Linked DNA regions of Homo sapiens: regions 1, 2 and 3 are each linked to region 4. Evidence: promoter capture Hi-C in 16 types of primary human blood cells and fetal thymus (Javierre and others, 2016). All regions are on one chromosome and are shown on one strand. Each heading gives the region's core, a stretch centred on a gene start or on the middle of the fragment in contact. The rest is flanking DNA. Distances are from core to core; before and after follow the strand shown. Region 1 overlaps SHTN1 (shootin 1). Region 2 overlaps SHTN1 (shootin 1). Region 3 overlaps SHTN1 (shootin 1). Region 4 holds the start of VAX1 (ventral anterior homeobox 1).

Region 1 (2,700 bases), core at 193-2,692, 240 kb after region 4:
GGGGAAAGTAAGCAAGAAAGTAAAGCTGCAGAGCTGCATGTTGGGAGTCAGGTGACAGAGGTGAGGAGTTGGATAGGTTGGTGTCTCAGGTACTTGAATCTCTGGGGTGGTTTTCTTCTGCCTAGAAAGGCTTTTGGGAAAGTAAATGTGAAGTCACAAGTAGAGAAAGGAAACATCAGAAGAGAGACAGCCTGAGAGTTTGCAGAGCTAAGATCTCAGGTTAATGGTTATCTGCCCCAGGGACAAAGGATGTTGTACCCTTTTCCTTAGGATTTTTCTTAGGCATTTAACTAATGTTCCCTTGTTTTACCTAGCCTTGTGTCCTACCAAACTGACATTTCAAAGAGCAGCAAGTGCCTCTTGGAGAACACTGGGTGGCTTAAACAGGATGCAATAATAATACTCTTAAACGGTGTACATTTTTTAAAATGTCTTTTTGTATATAAGAAAAATATAAGAGCTGTAGCTTAGCTCACTAATTGCCTTCCTTTTTGCAGAAAATGTGTTGGTGTATTCAGAAGCAGATCTTTCTTACAAGGACAGATTGTTTAAAGCTAACTAGTATTGTAGTCAACGCTTACCCAAGGGCAGAATAGAGCTGATCAGAAGCAAATCTTGAATTCAACTTCGTATTTATATTTTCAGGAACTCTAAAATTAATTGATCTTTCTGTTCTGCCCTTCTGTCGTAACTGCCACAGCTCCATGCAACATGAGGCTTGACATAGCTGGGAGGAAAAGGCCTTTTTTTTTTGTCTCTGAGATGAAGTCTCTCTTGTCGCCCAGGCTGGAGTGCAGTGGCGTGATCTCGGCTCACTGCAACCTCTGTCTCCTGAGTTCAAGCGATTCTCTTGCCTCAGCCTCCCATGTAGCTGGGATTACAGGCGCCCACCATCAAACCTGGCTGATTTCTAGTAGAGACAGGGTTTCACCATGTTGGCCAGGTTGGTCTCTAACTCCTGACCTCAGGCGATCCGCCTGCCTCGGCCTCTCAAAGTGCTGGGATTACAGGCATGAGCCACCACGTACAGCCGGAAAAGGCCTTTTAGATCAAAATATCCAATAATGTCCAAACGTGTCTGCCTAGAGAGTATAGGTGAATTAAATGGGGAAGATAGAAACTAATGCTTTGTGAACTGGGGCTTCCACTAGAACAGAGAGGTCCTGTGTAACCTGCATAGAGCAAGGCTCAGAGAGGTGTCCAACAGAATGGGTTCACAATTTTTTAGTCTCTCTTAGGTAGGTTTTTCAAATTAGACCTTCATTTTTAGAGTTGATATGTTACGCTATTATACTGAGTATATCAGGCACATTAAATCCAAATGGAAGAATAGCATTCCAGAGCTTAATACCAATGGTCAGGGATTAGCTAGCATTTTGGATTATACCCACTAGTGCTTTCCATTTTAAGATGATCTGACATTTGTTAGGGATAGACACCCAAGAGACACCCAAGTTTTGTGCTCTTCTTACTGGCACATTTCAAGGTTATCCTCTCACTTTATTTCTAGAAATAGTCATTTAATTTGCATATTTGTGACTTATCTTTGTTTTAAAAGCATTCCTTCTGAAGTTTCAAGAAGCACTTACTAGAATCATGCTTTGAGAAAAACTGACTAGGATAGAATCTTTCCACCTAAAATTAGGGACTGGCTTCAATGCCCAGAATTTTTAGATTGATATGCCAATAATTCCAGTAACAAGTTTTATTATGGTTTTTAAATCCTGTCCTAAAGAGCAGAAAAGTCCAAAAGGTAAATAGCCAAACTCTTTCCCACTTAATTTTTATGATTTTGTGTCTGTGTTTTAAGAGGAAACAAATCCACTTACTTCTCATTCACATTAAAATGAAAATGTTCATAAAAACTGTTTAATGCTCAAGAAGCCTTCATGAGCCTTTTAGAGCCTTTTGACATGGTTCCATTTGCTGTTTAAAATGCAGAACTGAGTTTTGGGAAGAATTAACTCTTGAGAGGCGAAATGGTTCGAGTAGGGCTGTCAGAAAGCCATACTCTATGAGAGGAAAAGACTTTCCACAATTCCAGTATTACGAAGGACCCTGGTCAGTGAGGGAATTGTGGCCTGGGATTTTGTGGTTTCTTAAAGGTCTGTACACAATTTCTCAGCGTGGTCCTGGTAGATTGAAATGTAGTAGTACCACGAAAGCAGAGCAGATTTCCAACAACATTTTCCAGCATGCTCTTGAAATTTTAACAAACTTGGCCTTTTCACTTCTTGAGGGATTTTCAGCTAATCTGTTTTTCAGTACCATATTAATAAGCATCATACAGAATTATTAAACTTGAGGTATGTGTTTGGTTTTAAGGTCCAACTGGGATATTAGCCACCTCAGAGTCCAAATCCATGCCAGTGTTGGGTTCTGTATCCAGTGTAACAAAAACAGCCTTGAACAAGAAAACTCTGGAGGCAGAATTCAACAGCCCGTCCCCCCCAACACCTGAGCCAGGTGAAGGGCCCCGTAAATTGGAAGGATGCACAAGTTCCAAGGTTACGTTTCAGTAAGTAACGATGCTCTTTACTAAGTGGTGTATAGAAGAATCTGTAATGACTAACTTGTGTGTTTCTTTGATTTGTTTCCTTTAGAGAGATTTTGATTGGCTCGCCGGTAAATTCTCTTCTTCTTTTCATTTGATGGGCCAGCTTTTTCATTCTAGGCTCCTAGCTAAGAGATCTCATTCAG
Region 2 (2,700 bases), core at 61-2,560, 250 kb after region 4:
AGTCTGAATCCAGAATATCAGAGACAACTATTTTCTCTCTCTGCTTTTTACTTTTTTTGTCTAACTCTTCATCTCATAGGCCTCCCAGTAGCATTGGATGCAGGAAAAAATACATTGACGGTGAAAAACAAGCCGAACCAGTTGTAGTTTTAGATCCTGTTTCTACACATGAACCCCAAACCAAAGACCAGGTTGCTGAAAAAGATCCAACTCAACACAAGGAGGATGAAGGCGAAATTCAACCAGAAAACAAAGAAGACAGCATTGAAAACGTGAGAGAGACAGACAGCTCCAACTGCTGATCCATAAACCAGAAGCCTGACATGTTTGGAAGTCCTTTTCAATAAGCACATGATTAGTGTTGTTATATTGGCAAGGGCTGTAGACATTCTGCTCTGGTCACTGTATTCAGAATACAGGTTCTTTTCTGGTGTCACTTTTGTAAGTAGCAACTATAAACATAAGTAAGCTGTTTAGCAAAACACACATTCCTAGTAGGTTTTGGTTTTTTGATCTTTATAAAGATGAGGTTTTTTTCCTAGTTACTGTATTAAGTATGACTTCTTTTAGAAGGTTACAAAAAAATTCAGATGTTGATACCTTTTTAGGAAATGTGCATACCACTCATCAAATGGAATGCTGAAAGTTTGAGGTGCTTGTATATAATCGGATAAACAAAACTGATCAACCCAATGTGATTTTAAAAGCCCCCAAAGAAGCTTCTGTTTTGGGTCTGATCCTCTTGATGGAGAAACTGCAGCAGCATGGAAATTGTTGGGTACTGTGGCATACAAGTTATTTTCTACAGTAGACTGAGATAAACTGAAAACTCAGGAGCTGGCATCAAACTCGTAGTCCCATAGTCAGTGTTAATTACACACATTGTTAACTATTGGATGAAAAATACATGCTATTGATTGTGTCCAAAGCCTCCCGAGGACCTCCGTGGGGATGCTCTGGTAGCCTGAATACAGAACTGAGGTGAAAGTCCAAACCTTGAATTTTACAGTAGTAAGTTGGTAAACCATGTGCTCTGTGCTATGAGTTAATTATGTTTTCCCAAATACTAATGTGGCACAAGTACCATATTTTATCAGAGTTCTTATGTACAGTATGGTGAAGATAAGTGACAAGCACACATTTTTCTTGCTTCACTGCTGTTCTATATTACACAGGTTTGTTGTTGTTTTTTTTAAAAAAGAAATTAAGCAGTAGTTAGTCTCTAAAAATACAATGTTTCAGGCTACCACAGTGAATAAATAGAAATGTAATCAGGGATTAAAAAAAAAACTTATGCAGCTTTTCAAAGTTGATTGTTTCAAAATTGGTGTTTATTTAAAATAAGTGGTAATGTACTTGAATGCACTTTTTATGACAATGATTCAGTAATGGTAATTTTACTATTAAAGAAAGTGAAAGGTTTAGTTTTGTTAGCATGGCTCAGCATGTAGCTGTCAGGTGTTTTTCACCTAAGGGCAAAAGAAAATGATAGTAATAATTGCAGTAGTTGTATTGTATTGTATTTTTGCACGTGTGGTAAGCATAGGCTTGAAGAGGTGGGTAGGCAGGTACATGTACTTCCTAAATTTGGAGATAATTATCTTTCTGTAAGTTCGTTATGCTTGACTGTTTCCATGTTCTCCCAATAATGATTTTATAGTTACTTATCACTTTACTCATGGAGAATTAAAACGTAATGTTTTTCAACTGTATCTTTCTTTAACTGGATAATACTGCTATATGATATGCTTACTACAGACTGCATTAATTCACGAAACGAATTCTGTTATGCTGTAATTTGAACTCTCCTCACCACAACTTATTAAAAAGGCACCAATAGTTTCCCATTAAGGGTCAGTTGTGGTTATTATTAACGTTTCTGGTTTAGTTCCCCAAGCTTGACATTCTTTAATAGAAAATTGTATATGATTTGACAACTTTAGTAATTTTTAATAGTCCCTAAGATGGTTTATTGAGTTTTCTTTCATGTTTCTTTGTGCTGTCTTCCTTCTTGCATCTGTGATCTGTCTGCCAGCATGCAACTCACACACATTTAGGAATATAAAAATATGTACACTGTCTTTCCATATTTCATCACACCATCACAGAATAATATGGTTATCAAAATACCCTCCTTTCTAGAGTAAGAAGTTGCCCTTTGGGTGAAATGTGTTAGCTGGACTAGGGAACAATTAGTAACAGGTATTTTGAAAGTATTCCTGCCTTTTTTAAGCTGCTTACTTTCTCTCACTGTGATTACAAAGCATTTTAAATTAATTTGACATGAAGGTATTTGATGGAAGATATTCACTCACCTTTTTCTGCCTACAGTTTTTCCCTTTTCACTTTGGTTTTGAGGGGGTTTTGCCCCTGGCTGGGGTGACACTGTCAACCAAAGCAAGGGATCCCAAATAGGAAGACATAGGAGAACCGTGCTTATATCTGCAAGGTATGTTCATAGCTATTGCACACACAAAACTTACATACGTCCTGCTTACACAATTTTAAGTTGGAAAAGACTGCATCTTTATGTTTTTGATTTCTCTAAAAGGTTATTTATGCTTCCTTCTGTTTGGGAAAGATAAATTAAGTCTTGTGCGCTATAGAGGATTTTTTTTCTTTAAGAAAAACGAATGTTGATGCATTTTATAGCCCGAGTGAGGAACAGAGATAGAGGTACTTTGTGCCATTGCTATTAAA
Region 3 (2,700 bases), core at 155-2,654, 200 kb after region 4:
ACAAAACCAAAAACTTAATCCCCCTCAACAAGAAAACTATCAGTTGTCTTCATAACTATATTAAAATTTTAAATTTCTTCAACATAATTAAATTTTTTGACCAGGCATGGTGGCTCACGTCTGTAATCCAAGCACTTTGGGAGGCCGAGGCGGGGGGATCAATTGAGGCCAGGAGTTCAAGACCAACCTGGCCAACATAGTGAAACCCCATCTCTACTAAAAATACACAGATTAGCCAGGCATGGTGGCAGGCACCTGTAGTCCCAGCTACTTGGGAGGCTGAGGCACGAGAATCACTTGAACCTGAGAGGCAGAGGTTGCAGTGAGCCGAGATTGTGCCACTGCACTCCAGCCTGGGTGCCAGAGCGAGACTCCATCTCAAAAAAAAAAAAAAATTACTGTAATCATAATGGTCACCCAAAACAATTCATTTTAATTAAATCACTGGTCTGAAGTTTAAGATACTGTGATGAAATATTGATTACTCTTTCTTAGAATGCTGAAGCTGCATCTCACCCTTCTCCAGCCAAGTGTACATGCACATACTCTTCCTCACTGCAGTCTCTATACCTCTCACTCTCACACAAATGGAAGAAGAATGTGGGTTTCATGTATATGCAATTGTTTATTTACCTGTTTGACTTTGTAATGTGTTTTAATTCTGCAGAAGAACCCTGTCGTAGTTTTGTAGGCTTTTCATAAATCCCTAGGCAAAGAAGGAAAGCTTCTGACCTTTTTTTCCCTTTCATAGGAAGACATACTGGGAAGAAAATGTTAGTGTTTTAGTATACTGTATTCATGACTTGACTTTGATGTGGAAGTCGATACTGATCAAGAGCTTAAGGATTGTATAAATCATTAAAGCTGTGGTCTTGCCACATGGAGGTTGATGGAAAATATTTTTGTCCTGAGTTTTATTTGCTGACTTTTTCTGTTACATGATGGGTGAAGTTGTTGAACAAACTAATATGAGGGCTTTAGCAAATCATTTTGCAGTTCAGAGCTTTCAGTTAAGTTATAATGTAAATTTTAAAATGCTGTTAAAAATCTGAAAAGGTGAAGCTCTATTATAAAATTGGTAGGCCAGATTTCAGAGTTTACAAAAACATTTCATACTTGGAATCACTCACTGGCCAAATTGGGTAGAGTGTTAAGGAAAAGAAATAACAGGTAAATAGAAATCAATATTATTTTCAATCATGTAAAGTTGTGAGGATTTGATGAATAACATATAAATTGCTTAATACAGTGCTCAATAAAATATACTGTCTCCCTTCTCCCCTTTACCCTTCTACTGTTAACTACTTTTATCACTAGGGAGAAACTAATTAGTTTAAAACAAAACATTAGATCTAGCAAATAGTAGAGGAACTTAGCCAGATGGTTAAGAGCTTGGGCATGTAAATCAGATATGGGTTTAAGTCCTGGTCTTGTCACTTACGTGTGTTCTTGGGAAAGTTGCTTAACTTCTTTGAGCCTCAGTTACCTTATTAGTAAAATTAGATGATAGTAGTGTCTACTTGATAGTGTTGTTTTAAGGATTATATGATATAATGAATGTAAAATGATTCCCACCATATCTATCACATAGTGTTTAGTAAATGTTACCTATTCATAGTAGAAGCACTTTAATAGGATTGATGTAAGGATTAAAATAATCCATATAAAATATTTAGTGGAGTACACAAGGTAAATTCTTGAGAAATATTAGCTACTACTATTAATATTAATGTATCTTAAAGCAATAATAAAATATTAAAAACTGAAGAGTAAGACCAGCTTATTGTATAAATATCTTGTTGGGGCAGGAGTAAAGGTATTAAAGATTATATAAAAGGAATGAAATCATAGCAATCACTACTTCTAAAACTTATAGAAGTCAGAATTTGCCTTTAATGATTTAATAAAAATTCCATGTACTTTTCTTTTGCTGAAGTTACAGTTGAGGAGGTATGTGAGATTGATTGATATATACATTCTTGTAACAAACTTTTGCAGATGTTCATTGAGCAAAACAAGCTAAAGAGACAAAGCCACCTTCTGCTGCAGAGCTCCATCCCTGATCAGCAGCTTTTGAAAGCTTTAGACGAAAATGCAAAACTCACCCAGCAACTTGAAGAAGAGAGAATTCAGCATCAACAAAAGGTAACCCATTTTCTTCTGGAATCTTAGGTACACACACACATACATGCATACACACATATATTTAAGATGAAGGGAGCCAGTGCAGTCAGTCCAGTCATTTACTGTTTCATATTTTGCCTTAGTTACTAAGTGCTTTCAACCACCTTTTAGAAAAAAATAACTAAATGAACTTAATGTTGTGAAACTGAAATTTGTAATACGCTATTATAGACTTTATAATAATCTTTAAACTGTCCAAAGGGTCGGAAGAAGCAAGGGAAAGAGGTATAACTTAAAAACAGCTTGGATAAGGCAAAGTCTGGAAATTCAATTTTTGGAAATGTTATATTTTTTGGAGACTGCACACACTAAGAGGCTGTATTCAACTCAGAGCACTTGTTGGAGGGCATAGGTTTTATTCAAAGAAAATGACAGTCCGTATTAGTAGTAATTGTTTGCTTAGAGAAAATTTTTGATTTTGTAAACTTGCACAAATGTGTATGTTTAAAGACTTCCTAAGTGATTATTTCAATTTGATGAGTGGAGCTATTCCAGCTGACACAGCCTACCTCTGTG
Region 4 (2,700 bases), core at 22-2,521:
GAGGGCAGGGAACACGGCCCTTCCCCCGCCCAGGAGCCACGCCAGACCGCCGCACTCAGAGGACTGTTTGTTAATAGTCCAATTAGATAATTGCCATCTTTCACTCCTTTTGCTCCGCATTTCCCATAAAGGAATGAATGGGGAGAGCGGCGTGGAGAGGGCTTCTGCCCCGGCAAGGTGACGAGAAGGGCTGGAGCATGCTCCTTGCACAAGGCCATGCGCTTGAATTGAATCATTGTAGCCTAATCAATGCTCTTATTGGATTACTGGCTGTTGCTTTTCTCAAAGATATTGTAGCAGAGACAATGAAATAGCTAGGGGAAAACTTTTTTTTTTTTTTTTTGAAGCAGATCTCACAGTTGAGATTTCTCGGCCGTCTCTCCCTCTCCCCCTCTCTCTCCTGCTGGACTCTGAGTACAAAGCTGCCCTTTGAATGGGCTGCCTCAGGGCTGCTGGAGGTGCAGGCATGAAAAAATCCAACTGGAACTAAATGAAGAGAGGTGGCAGTTTAAGATGGCTGTCTGCGTCGAGGTGTGTTAAGAAGGAGTTGTTTAGGGGAAAATCTTGGCTTTTTTAGAGTGCAAGGGAGATACTTTTTGGGAAAACTTTCTCCCCCCGCTCTGTCCCCCATCCCCCACTCCCAGACAACTGCTTTCTTCTGCCGCAGGGTGCGCAGGGTTTTTTTTTTCTCCCCCCACACCCCCCCGCCGCCCAACCCTCATTCAGCTCTATCTGGCGAGTGTGGAGAAAACCCCTCTAGCCAGTATGTGAGCAGGAGGGTCAAAGGCAAAAGGAAAGTTAATAATGCCTGCTAATGGTACTAACAATTCAGGATGAATCTTGTCAAAAGTTTTTCTGGAAGTGTGGGTCTTTGATTGTGTGTTTCCTGAAAGCAAGACCAATCATTTCCGTTTATTCACTGGCTAAACCCCTACTTGATTGGGGACAAGGACAGAAACCATCCATTACGATCTGATATATTATCCAAACAATTTAGTGTATTCATGAGGTAACCGAAACGTGGGGGCTGCGAAATTACCCGTAATCAATTGCAACAGCGAGTGTGCGTCCCCCCGGGTGTCGGACAACTACAACTCGCCGTCTCAGAAACAGGCGGGAGCCGCAGCATTTCGGAGTTGCGCTGTTCGCTACCTGATCGCCAGGCTGGGGACACTGGACGTGCTCAGAGGACGCGGGTGCTGACGAGGCGGCCTCGCCGCAGCTCCACCAGGATCCTGGACCAGACTGGCCGCCTCTCGGCGAGCGCGCCACTCTCCCGTCGCCGCTGACCCGCGCGCGGCCGCCGAAGCCTCCCCGCGGGGACATTCATTCTTGCCCCTTGCCTGTCGCCGGGCCGGGCGTACGGGCCGCGTTGTCGGGGGTTTTGTCCCCTTTTTCCTCTTTTTTTTTTCCTTCTCCGCCCCCCCCCCTTTTTTTTTTTTTTGCTTTTTTTTTCCTTTCTGTTTTTGTTGTTGTTCTTGCCTATGTTCGGGAAACCAGACAAAATGGACGTTCGATGCCACTCGGACGCCGAGGCTGCCCGGGTCTCGAAGAACGCGCACAAGGAGAGTCGGGAGAGCAAGGGCGCGGAGGGGAACCTCCCAGCCGCCTTCCTCAAGGAGCCGCAGGGCGCCTTCTCAGCGTCGGGCGCTGCTGAGGATTGTAACAAAAGTAAATCCAATTCCGCAGCGGACCCGGATTACTGCCGCCGGATCCTGGTCCGAGGTAGGGATGGGCAGGGCTGCCAGGCGCGTTCTTTGGGGTCGACTCCGGGGCCGGAGCTGCGCGCTGCCGCCGACACAGGCCGGTGGGAAGGAGTGCCGGCTGGGACTTGGGAGAAAGTTGTTGGCCCTCCCCGCCCCGAGTCCGGCTGGGGACAAGCGCCTGGGACTCTCCGGTGCGCTCTCCAGGGGCCTCGGCCCTCCACGCCCGGAGGGGCCCCGCTGACCGGGCTGCGGGGGGAGATGAGGGGCTGCGCGGGTGCGGCCGGGCATCGGGCTGCGGCCTCCGACCCGGGAAAGGAGCAGAAAACTCCGGGAGGAGGTGTGCGCGCTCCAAGGGCCGGACGACCTGCCGGGAGCCGGCCAGGGGACTCCCGCGCTCTGGAGGGCTGAGCGCACCCAAGGGGGAACGCGAGCCCCGGAGAACAGCTGCCGATCGCGGGCTACGGCCCTGCCAGTTAGTGCACTGGGCCGAGGACCCCACGGCCGCGATCGGTGCCCGACCGCTGCCGCCGGGAGAGGCAGCTGGGCTTGGTTACGGAGCCGCGGTTGCCGCTTTGGTGCTCTGCTCTGCCGCTCTCGGATGGCGCGGCGTGCACTTAGCCCCGGCGGCGGAGGCTGCGAGGCCGGGCCCCGGCCCGGCGCCGCCCCAGCCAGCAGCAGATCTCCGGGCCCGGCCGGCCCCGACTCAGTCCCTCCTCCTTCCGCCGCGCGGACTCCGGAGGGAAGGAGACTCGAGGGTGGGGGTGGGGACGTCTGGATCACGGTCTGGTCGGCAAGCCCAGAGCTGGGGCCCGCAGGACCCGGGCGGGGCGACAAGGGTACCCTCAGGCTACAGGGGACCCGGAAGGCTCAGCCGAGGCCCCCCCAGGCCGGAAGAAACGTCCGCCTATGTGGAATTGATTGGATTTTTTTCTCTCCCCTGTCTGGAGGACTCTACAAAAAGACAAAGTGTGGTCCCTCCTTCGGTCAGCGGTAT

Evidence for each region. Contacts are between HindIII fragments. The CHiCAGO score rates a contact against its expected background, and 5 or more counts as called.
Region 1: a contact is called between a fragment that was not itself captured here and the fragment with the promoter of VAX1 in region 4, in 1 of 17 cell types (M2 macrophages). The highest score is 5.3, in M2 macrophages.
Region 2: a fragment that was not itself captured here is called in contact with the fragment with the promoter of VAX1 in region 4 in 1 of 17 cell types (M1 macrophages); the score reaches 6.4 in M1 macrophages.
Region 3: a contact is called between a fragment that was not itself captured here and the fragment with the promoter of VAX1 in region 4, in 1 of 17 cell types (M1 macrophages). The highest score is 5.2, in M1 macrophages.

What each region holds. Positions count from the first base shown.
Region 1 is chr10:116,901,583-116,904,282 of GRCh38, reverse strand. SHTN1 (shootin 1) reads left to right here. Exons shown (of 17, transcript NM_001127211.3): 16 at 2,326-2,518. It also overlaps a transcript of ENO4 not described here. Among named protein-coding and RNA genes, the nearest start is that of ENO4, 53 kb to the right of the region's middle. The HindIII fragment of the contact is 5,794 bases long and covers 1-2,700 here.
Region 2 is chr10:116,883,946-116,886,645 of GRCh38, reverse strand. It overlaps SHTN1 (shootin 1), which reads left to right. Exons shown (of 17, transcript NM_001127211.3): 17 at 80-2,700. The coding sequence ends at 302. It also overlaps a transcript of ENO4 not described here. Among named protein-coding and RNA genes, the nearest start is that of ENO4, 36 kb to the right of the region's middle. The HindIII fragment of the contact is 1,178 bases long and covers 722-1,899 here.
Region 3 is chr10:116,939,911-116,942,610 of GRCh38, reverse strand. SHTN1 (shootin 1) reads left to right here. Exons shown (of 17, transcript NM_001127211.3): 9 at 1,999-2,145. Among named protein-coding and RNA genes, the nearest start is that of SHTN1, 64 kb to the left of the region's middle. The HindIII fragment of the contact is 1,356 bases long and covers 727-2,082 here.
Region 4 is chr10:117,136,841-117,139,540 of GRCh38, reverse strand. VAX1 (ventral anterior homeobox 1) reads left to right here and starts at 1,271. Exons shown (of 3, transcript NM_001112704.2): 1 at 1,271-1,725. The coding sequence starts at 1,485. The HindIII fragment of the contact is 11,137 bases long and covers 1-2,700 here.